3 separate regions of the Homo sapiens genome follow, and all the other regions are linked to region 1. Evidence: promoter capture Hi-C in human tissues and cell types (Jung and others, 2019). All regions are on one chromosome and are shown on one strand. Each heading gives the region's core, a stretch centred on a gene start or on the middle of the fragment in contact. The rest is flanking DNA. Distances are from core to core; before and after follow the strand shown.

The links. Contacts are between HindIII fragments. The study calls those that stand out against the background at their distance.
Region 2: a fragment that was not itself captured here is called in contact with the fragment with the promoter of ZNF486 in region 1 in 1 of the 25 tissues and cell types used here (mesendoderm cells).
Region 3: a contact is called between a fragment that was not itself captured here and the fragment with the promoter of ZNF486 in region 1, in 1 of the 25 tissues and cell types used here (H1 embryonic stem cells).

What each region holds. Positions count from the first base shown.
Region 1 is chr19:20,165,655-20,168,626 of GRCh38, forward strand. ZNF486 (zinc finger protein 486) reads left to right here and starts at 1,560. Exons shown (of 4, transcript NM_052852.4): 1 at 1,560-1,706. The coding sequence starts at 1,677. All of the region lies in intron 5 of LOC105372310 (a long non-coding RNA gene), which reads right to left. RefSeq lists an enhancer at 2,142-2,972. The HindIII fragment of the contact is 10,632 bases long and covers 1-2,972 here.
Region 2 is chr19:19,993,368-19,996,283 of GRCh38, forward strand. It overlaps the pseudogene BNIP3P12 and a transcript of ZNF682 not described here. Among named protein-coding and RNA genes, the nearest start is that of ZNF682, 45 kb to the right of the region's middle. The HindIII fragment of the contact is 4,940 bases long and covers 1-2,916 here.
Region 3 is chr19:19,946,022-19,949,089 of GRCh38, forward strand. It overlaps the pseudogene BNIP3P12. Among named protein-coding and RNA genes, the nearest start is that of ZNF93, 47 kb to the left of the region's middle. The HindIII fragment of the contact is 6,290 bases long and covers 1-3,068 here.

The DNA of each region.
Region 1 (2,972 bases), core at 310-2,809:
TAAGAACCTCGATAAAAGGTTAGAGGAACTGTTAACTAGAATAACCAGTTTGGAGAGGAACATAAGAGGATGAGATGCATGAATTCACAGAAGTAGGCTTCAGAAGACGGTTAATAACAAACTCTGCTGAGCTAAAGAAACATGTTTGAACCCAATTTGAAGAAGCTAAGAACCTTGATAAAAGGTTAGAGGAACTGCTAACTAGAATAACCAGTTTGGAGAGGAACATAAGAGGATGAGATGCATGAATTCACAGAAGTAGGCCTCAGAAGATGGTTAATAACAAACTCTGCTGAGCTAAAGAAACATGTTCGAACCCAATTTGAAGAAGCTAAGAACCTTGATAAAAGGTTAGAGGAACTGCTAACTAGAATAAACAGTTTGGAGAGGAACATAAATGACCTGATGGAGCTGAAATGTTTGGCATGAGGCCCAGTCACTAGGGCCCTTTGCGACTGGGCTCAAGGAACACAAAAACGTTATCTTGTTTTTCAATAACTAACATATAGGAATAGATTGAAACAGAGATTTCTCTGAAATGACACTACATGAATGCCTCAATGAATGCCTCAAGGGGGTCACACAACCGGTTCTGAGACTTGGTGACCATTGTTTGTGTCTGTGTTCAATTTATTTCAAAATTAATATTTAACTTTTCCTCCACAAATTCCCCTGTCTTGATGAATGGGCTCTGTCTAGGCAAAAGGCCTGTCTTTATGAATCAGCTCTGTCTAGACAAAAGGCAAGGTAAAACCCTTGGGCTGTTACACAACCTCCGCCTCCTGGGTTCAAGCGATTCTCTTGCCTCAGCCTCCGGAGTAGCTGGGACTACAAGTGCACACCAGCACACCCAGATAATTTTTTGTATTTTTAGTAGAAATGGGGTTTCACCATGTTGGCCAGGCTGGTCTTGAACTCCTGACTCAAGTTATCCGCCCACCTTGGCCTCCCAAAGTGCTGGAATTAGAGGCGTGAGCCACTGCGCCTGGTTCTAAATGATTTCTATTTCCTGTAACAATTTGAAATTACTTAAAGGTTGTTTCAAATTGAAAAAAAGAATGTAGATAAAATATAAAAAGTTAAAAAAATTACAAGTGATTATGAAATATATGTGTAAATCTCGAGAGGTCAAAAGTGACAAATCTGATTTATATATAAGGTTTTATTAAAATTAGCTTTAGTATTGATAATACACTATTACCAAAGTAAAAGTTGATTTTCTAACAAAAATTTTATGTATTATTAATATGACAGCAAAATACTTCTGTTCACCTTTTGAATACATGCAAAAAGAGAGAGAGTAAAAAAGAGATAGAATTTTCCCTTGCTCTAGGGTGGGCCTGGCTCAGCTCAGGGAGGAAGCCCTGCCTGAAAAGGCTGCAGCTTAGGCTGTTACTCTTTCATCACTCAGCCCAGCATCTGATCACATCCTCTGTCACTCAGGGACTGAGTGGGCGGGGCCTTAAGCATTATCCAATCAGAGACGCTGGGCTGGAAACCGTCCAATCAGGCAGGCAGCTGGAGCAAAGAGGACGGCTTCCGGGTTTGGCGCGGCCTTTGTCTCTCGCTGCATCTGGAGCTCTAGGTCGCCTCTTCGCTACTCTGTGTCCTCTGCTCCTAGAGGCCCACCCTCTGTGGCCCTGTGTCCTGTAGGTATTGGGAGATCCACAGCCAAGATGCCGGGACCCCTTAGAAGCCTAGAAATGGTGAGAGTGCCCATTGGACATCCTGAGAGAGGGGAGGGACTGGTTGATGGGAAGTGGCTGTGGAGGGACTCAGGCCTCCCCGTAGTCAGCTCCACAATCTGCGTCCGGACTTCTCCTTACCCAGCTCGGCCTCAGTCCCCTTCAGCCATAAGATGGTGGCTGCGCTGACAGCCGGTCCCGGGGCGTCCTGTCTCTTCCCTGCGCAGTGACCGTGCCCTGGCCTGGCGCCCTCTCTGTGCAGCAGCTCTCCACCCGCAGCTTCGGGTCTCTCCCAGATGGTGCGGGAACCACGAGAAGGTCATCAGGGGAGAATCTTGACTCGGGGTGCGGGTTCACGATTCGGAAGAGCTTTGGTCCGTGGGGTTCACAGTTTCTCTTTTCTTTTGTTAAAAATTTATGGGGCCGGGCGCGGTGGTTGACGTCTGTAATCCCAGCATTTTGGGAGGCGAAGGCTGGCGGATCACTTGAGGTAAAGGGTTGCTAGGACAACTAAATTCCTCTTCAAAGACTCAACTTCCTGATCAGAAGTTGTAAAAGTTGTAAAACAACCCTACCCCTTTTTCTCCCTTTTCCTTTTCTCGCAAATCGCTCGTTTATCCTATTTGGAAAAAGTTTGGGTCTAAGCCAACCGGGATCAGCTTAGATTGTGCGGTCTGACCCCAGCCAATAGGGGAAGGACACAAAAACAAAAACTACGTTGGGGTTAAAAACCCATTCCTGGTCGGGCGCGGTGGCTCACGCCTGTAATCCCAGCATTTTGAGAGACCTAGGCGGGAGGATCTTGTGGTCAGGAGTTCTAGACCATCCTGGCCAACACCGTGAACCCCGTCTCTACTAAAAATACAAAAATTAGCCAGGTGTGGTGGCAGGCACCTGTAATCCCAGCTACTTGGGAGGCTGAGGCACGAGAATTGGTTGAACCCAGGAGGCGGAGGTTGCAGTGAGCTGAGACCGCGCCATCGTACTTAAGTGTGCGTGACAGAGCAAGACTCCTTCACACACACAAAAGAAGGGCCAGGCGCAGTGGCTCACGCCTGTAATCCCAGCACTTTGGGAGGCCAAGGCAGGCGGATCACCTGAGTTCGGGAGTTCGAGACCGGCCTGACTAACATGGAGAAACCCTGTCTCTATTAAAAATACAAAATTAGCTGGGCTTGGTGGCGCATGCCTGTAATCCCAGCTACTCGGGAGGCTGAGGCAGGAGAGTTGCTTGAACCCGGGAGGAGGAGGTTGCGGTGAGCCGAGATCGTGCCATTGCACTCCAGC
Region 2 (2,916 bases), core at 209-2,708, 170 kb before region 1:
AAAAAAACAAAAAACAAAACAAAACAAAACAAAAAACCAGTGATAATGGTAGTGTGTGCTAGGATTGAGATATCTCCCCAGTATTGTTTTCCCCAAACCTCTTTATTCCCAATTAACCATTTGCTTTGTTGCCTGGGGCATCCAGGTAGTAAGACCATTTGGTATTGACCAAGAGTTGGTATAGAAGTGAAAAATCCCTCTGGTCTCCTTCTGAATAGCTCAGGGGAACCGCTACTAGTTCAGCTAACTGGCTGCTCCCACCCCTTCCTTCATCAGAAATGCTTTTGTTTTTAATAGGATTATAAGCCACAGCCTTCCAGCATTGATTCCCACCAATGTATTTGGTGGATGCATCAGTAAACCAAGCATGTTTCTGATCCTCTGGGCTTAGTTCTTTAAAGGATTTGCCCCATTGGGTGGGGGAGGTTTCCTTCCCTATCTGCAGGACTTGCTCGGTGGTTTCCTGAGCTGGGAGATTTTGTACATCCTTATGTAAAAGTGATACTCACTTTGGTTTTGACTTAGCCTGGTCTTGTATGTACCATGTCCATTTTATGATGCTACTTTCTTGGACATGTCCTATCTGATGGGTTTTGGGGGAACTCAAGTCCCAAGTCATAATAGGAATTTCGGGCCTCATAAAGACATCATGGTTGAAGCAGAGGTGTTCCATTTCCAGCAAAGCCCAATAGCAAGCTAACAATTGCTTCTCGAAAGGGGTATAAGCTTTTCTGGCCTCTGGCAGTTTCTGGGTCCAAAACCTGAAAGGTACCCTCTTCCCATCTTGTTTCTAAGGCTCCAATTAGCCTGTTGATCTAGGACAGTTACTTGCAGTTCTCCTGGCCCATCCTGTATGGACCATAGATCCAGGGCCAGTTGCACCGCTTGTTTATCTTGTTCAGAAGCCATGCTGTCTGTCTCTCCCCAATGAAAGTCATAGTGTTTTCTAGTGGCTGCATGCAGAGGTTGTAAAATATTACTCAAGTGAGGAATATGATGTCTCCAGAATCCAGAGATGTCAATAAATGTCTGGGCCTCCTTTTTAGTGGTAGGGGTTGCAAATTCTAGTATTTTAGCCCCTTTACCTTTTGTAAGATGGACTATATCTCTGCATTCCATAGGATGCCAAGGTATTTTACAGTTTGTGCAGGTCCTTGAATTTTGCTAAGCTTAATTTCCCATCCTTGAGATAGGAGCTGGGTTTTTACCTGCTCCAAGCCCCAGCAAAGTAGTTCTTCAGTTTTAACCTGACCGAGTCATTCTGACAGCTGCTTTTTTTCAGCAATAGGGTGATAGCTTTGAGCCTGATCAGTCAAGATATAGGCCTGGCATTGGGCCAGGGCCAGTCTGGAAATCACACTGGCATTTTCCTTTTCCAACTTACATTTCTCTTATAGCAACCAGCCCGTATCTTGACACATTAACTTATAAGCAGTAAGCAAACACCATCCACTCTGGGAGATCCCTCAGCATCTCCTTTGCTGACTGGAATCTCCTGCAGCACTTCCCGCACAGTCAAAGGTTTAAATTGCACTAATTTAGATTCTCAGTTCTCACAAAGGCCAGTTCCCCTTGACCATTCAGTTGCCAAGGGGGAAAACTGGGGGAGTTCCCATCCTGAGACATGGGAAGTCCCTGAGCCTCCAGCCCCATCCTTCTGGCCAAAAAGCGGCATACTTTTGTTTCCAAATACTGTTTGTGACACCAAAAATGTTCTGTGCAGGAAACCCGCGAGGGGAGAAGAAAAGACCCACACACAATACTTTTAAGGGTAAGAAGTTTTATACCACGTAAATGGCAATGCAGATATAATAAACAAATAATATAATAAGCAAATCAATATAATAAGCAGATTGCAGACATAATAAGCAAATTGCAATGGGAAGAGGAGAATGGAAAAGGTTTACACTCACCAGACTGTATATATTTACACCACCAGACTGGGAAGAAACAACCTGGGCTCCAGAGTCGGCCACTCATCCGCGCACAGATGAGGAGAGGTCTCATGAAGCTTTGGCGCTATCTGGGACCCTAGCTCTTTTGTAATGAGTTTTTTGGCATGAGGCTTAGTCATGAGGGCCTTTTACGAATGGGCTCAAGGAACGCAAAAAGGTCAACTTGTTTTTGTGCTTGACTATTGTTTTTCAATAATGAATGTATAGGAATAGATTGAATTAGAGATTTCTCTGAAACAGCGCGGGATGAATGCCTCAAGGGGCTCACACAACCTGTTCCAGGACTTGGTGACCATTGTTTGTGTCCAGATTCAATTAAGTTCAAATTTAATATTTAACTTTACCTCCATACCAGACTATGGAGGATTCACCACCAGAGTGGGCAGTAACAGGCTGGGCTCCAGAGTTGGCCACCCATCTGTGAACACATGAAGAGGAAAAAAAAAAAAAAGTGAAAAACATTATCCCACAGTTTGCAAAATATATTACATTTAAACAGTTGTAAATACATGAACATAACATCTCAGTCATAATCAAAATTAAGTATCTGACAACACACTCGAAAGTTTGGGAGAAATAGAAAAGTGTTTGTGTCTTCCCCAGGCCCACAGTTCCAGTGCCCTGTGCTCCCTCATTGTCATGGGGTTGCCATGGGCCCCACAGGATATGGGAGGCACAGAGCAGATGGTGGCTGAAGGTGGGGTGTCTTGTGGGACCAGCTTCAAGATCAGAGACCTTGGTTCATTGTATTGAAATCAGCCAGCTCAGGAAAAGAGACCTTGCTGCCTCAAGCTCTATGTCCATCTGCATTAGCGATGTAAGGAGGCTTGAGCACCCATGGGCACACAAACCCATCCCACTCCAATATTTCATCAACTATTGAGGAGTCTGAATCCATGTTCTTGAGGAGCATATGCTTCTGCAGTTACAACCACTATGGAAAACAGTATGGAGATTCCTT
Region 3 (3,068 bases), core at 480-2,979, 220 kb before region 1:
AGACCTCCCTAATCTGGCTTTCAAAGTCTTCAATAACAGGGATGAGCAAAATAAATTAGATAAAGCCTAAAGAGATCTTGCTAAATACCAGCTTCTAGCAGTGGCTATCTGCCAACCTCGCCATAGTACCCAAGGGCACAAAACACCCAATAGCATTAACTCTCCCAGGCCTTTTTTAAAGTGAAGCAAAGAAGGCCACTGGGCATGAGCATGCCCTAATCCATGAATGCCAAAAAGCCCTTGCCCAGTCTGCCAGCAGACAGGCCACTGGAAGTCTGACTGTCCTGTTAACAGGCAGACAGAAAAGCCTGTACTGCAAAACCACCACCCTTTTGGAGAGACAAAAGGTGAAGTATCACTTGCATTCCCACAGCTCCTTAGTCTAGCCACTGAAGACTGACGAGGCCCAGGGCCCCTGGCCCCATCTACCTTCACTGCATCAGAGCCCAGGGTAACTCTACTAGCAGCAGGTAAGCCGATCTCTTTTTTAAATCAATACTGGGGCCACCTACTCAACTATGCCTGAATTCTCAGGACCAACTCATCCCTCCCAGGTCTCAGTTGTAGGGGTTAATGGACTCATCTCGAGTCCACGCACCACCAAGCCTCTTACCTGTTCCCTATTTCATACCGTTTTCTCACACCCTTTTCTTATCATGCCCTGTTACCCTAACCCCATCCTAGGCAGAAACCTCCTAACCAAATTAAAGGCTTCCATTACCTTCCTCTGTTCCCCACAACCAGACTCTCACCTACTCCTTTCTGCTACTGAACCAGCCCTGGGCCCCTCTCCCCAGTATCCACTCTCCTCTTCTCTGGTTAATACAATAGTGTGGGATACTACTACCCCTTCCCTAGCTACACACCACGATCCTATCAAAATCCAGCTAAAAGACGCCTCCAAATTCCCTAACATCTCTCAATATCCCATCTCAGTAGCTCATCAAAAAGGCTTACAGCCCATCATAAACAAACTCCTTTTGCGCAGCCTTCTCAGTCCAACTCATTCTCCATATAATACCCCCATAATTCCTGTTAAGAAGGCAAATGGCTCCTATCAACTAGTCCAAGACCTCTAGGCTATCAATCAGGCAGTCCTTCCCATCCACCCAATAGTTCCCAACCCTTATACACTCCTTTCCCTTATCCCTTCCAACACAACCTACTACACTGCCATTGATCTGAAAGATGCCTTTTTTGCTATTCCCTTTCACCCTGACTCCCGAGATCTTCTTACTTTCACCTGGACTGACCCTGAAACCCTCCAGTCTCAACAACTTACTTGGAAAGTCCTCCCTCAAGGCTTTAGAGATAGTCCCCATTTCTTTGGGCAAGCTCTGGCCCAAGACCTCACATCGCTAAACCTCTCCCCTTGCTGGCTCCTTCAGTATGTGGATGACCTCCTCCTCTGCAGCCCCTCCCTAAAAGACTCTCAAACCCACACTACTGCCCTTCTAAACTTCCTTGCTGATAAAGAATATAGGGTTTCCCCCTCTAAGGCACAACTCTCCACCCCAACAGTAACTTAGGAGTCCAACTCTCCCTCAGAGCCCAAGCCATGACCCCAGCACGGGAGATAGACAGTCTACGTCCACCCTTCTCCAAAAGAGAAATCCTTTCTTTCTTAGAACTAGCAAGATCCCTAATTTTGCCCTCCTAGCCTGCCCTCTTTATGAGGCAGCCAAAGGCCCTCCAAATGAGCCCCTAAATCCTTCACACAACATAATCCCCAGCTTCCTCAAACTAAAGGCAGCTCTTGTAACTGCTTCTGCTCTATCTTTGCCCAACATCTCTCAGCCTTTCACCCTCTACACAGCTGAAAACCATGGAATAGCCCTTGGCGTCCTCGGTCAACAAAAAGGAAGTCCTCCTTCCTTCACTCCTATAGCTTACCTTTCTAAACAACTAAACAACACCATCTGAGGATGGCCAGCCTGCCTCAGAGTCCTAGCAGCAGCCACCATGCTAGCTTTAGAAAGCAAAAAGCTAACATTCAGCCAAGACATCACCATATATAGCCCACATAATCTACAAGATCTTCTCTCCTCCCAAGTACTGAGCACCTTTTCTCCTTCCCACATCCAACTACTCCATGCTCTTTTTCTTGAGAATCCTGAATTCTGCCTCTCCAAAAATGCTCCCCTCAGTCCTGCATCTCTACCTCCAGTGTCTTCCTCTTCTCCCATCCACTCCTGTACTGAAATCCTTGATCACCTGCTGCATCATTTTCCCAATATCTCCCCGGAACCTCTTCTTGATCCTGATGACCAGTTATTTATAGATGGCTCCTCCTCCAAGTCCGTCAATTCCAATAAAATTGCTGGATATGCTTGACAGAGTAGTTAAAGCTAAGCCCCTACCCCCTGGAACCTCCTCCCAAAAGGCAGAACTCATAGCTCTCACTAGGGCCCTAACCCTCTCAAAAGGCAAACGGGTCAACATTTTTACAGACTCTAATTATACCGATCACATTCTTCATTCTCGCACCACCATCTGGCAGAAAAGAGATTCCTTACTGCCAAAGGAACCCCCGTTAAAAACGGCCCCCTTATTTACCAGCTCCTCCAGGCTGCATGCCTCCCAACTTAGGCAGGGGTTATATACTGTCAGGGACGTGAAACAGTATGAGACAAAATATCAAAAAGGGAATAGAAAAGCCAACGAGGCTGCAAAAGAAGCCTCCCTCTCATCAGCCCCTGCCCCTGTCCTCCTTGTTACCCCAGCAATCCAACCCAGGTACTCCCCCACCAAGAAGGCTTTGCTACTACAGCAAGAAGCCTCCTTTCAAGGGGACTGGATAATCAAAAGTCAAAAGCTCATCCTCCCCCAAGAACAAACCAAATAAATTCTAACATCTCTTCACCAATCCTTCCATATCGGTGCACACTTCCTGTACCTACTCCTTTGCCCTTATTTCTCCTCCCCCCACCTATTCATCTCACTAAGACACATAACCTCAAACTGTCATATATGCTCTGTTACTTCCTCCCAAGGGGCCCTCCGCTCTCCTCCTATTCCTACACATCAGCTCAGAGGAACACTCCCAGAGGAGGACTGACAGGTAGACT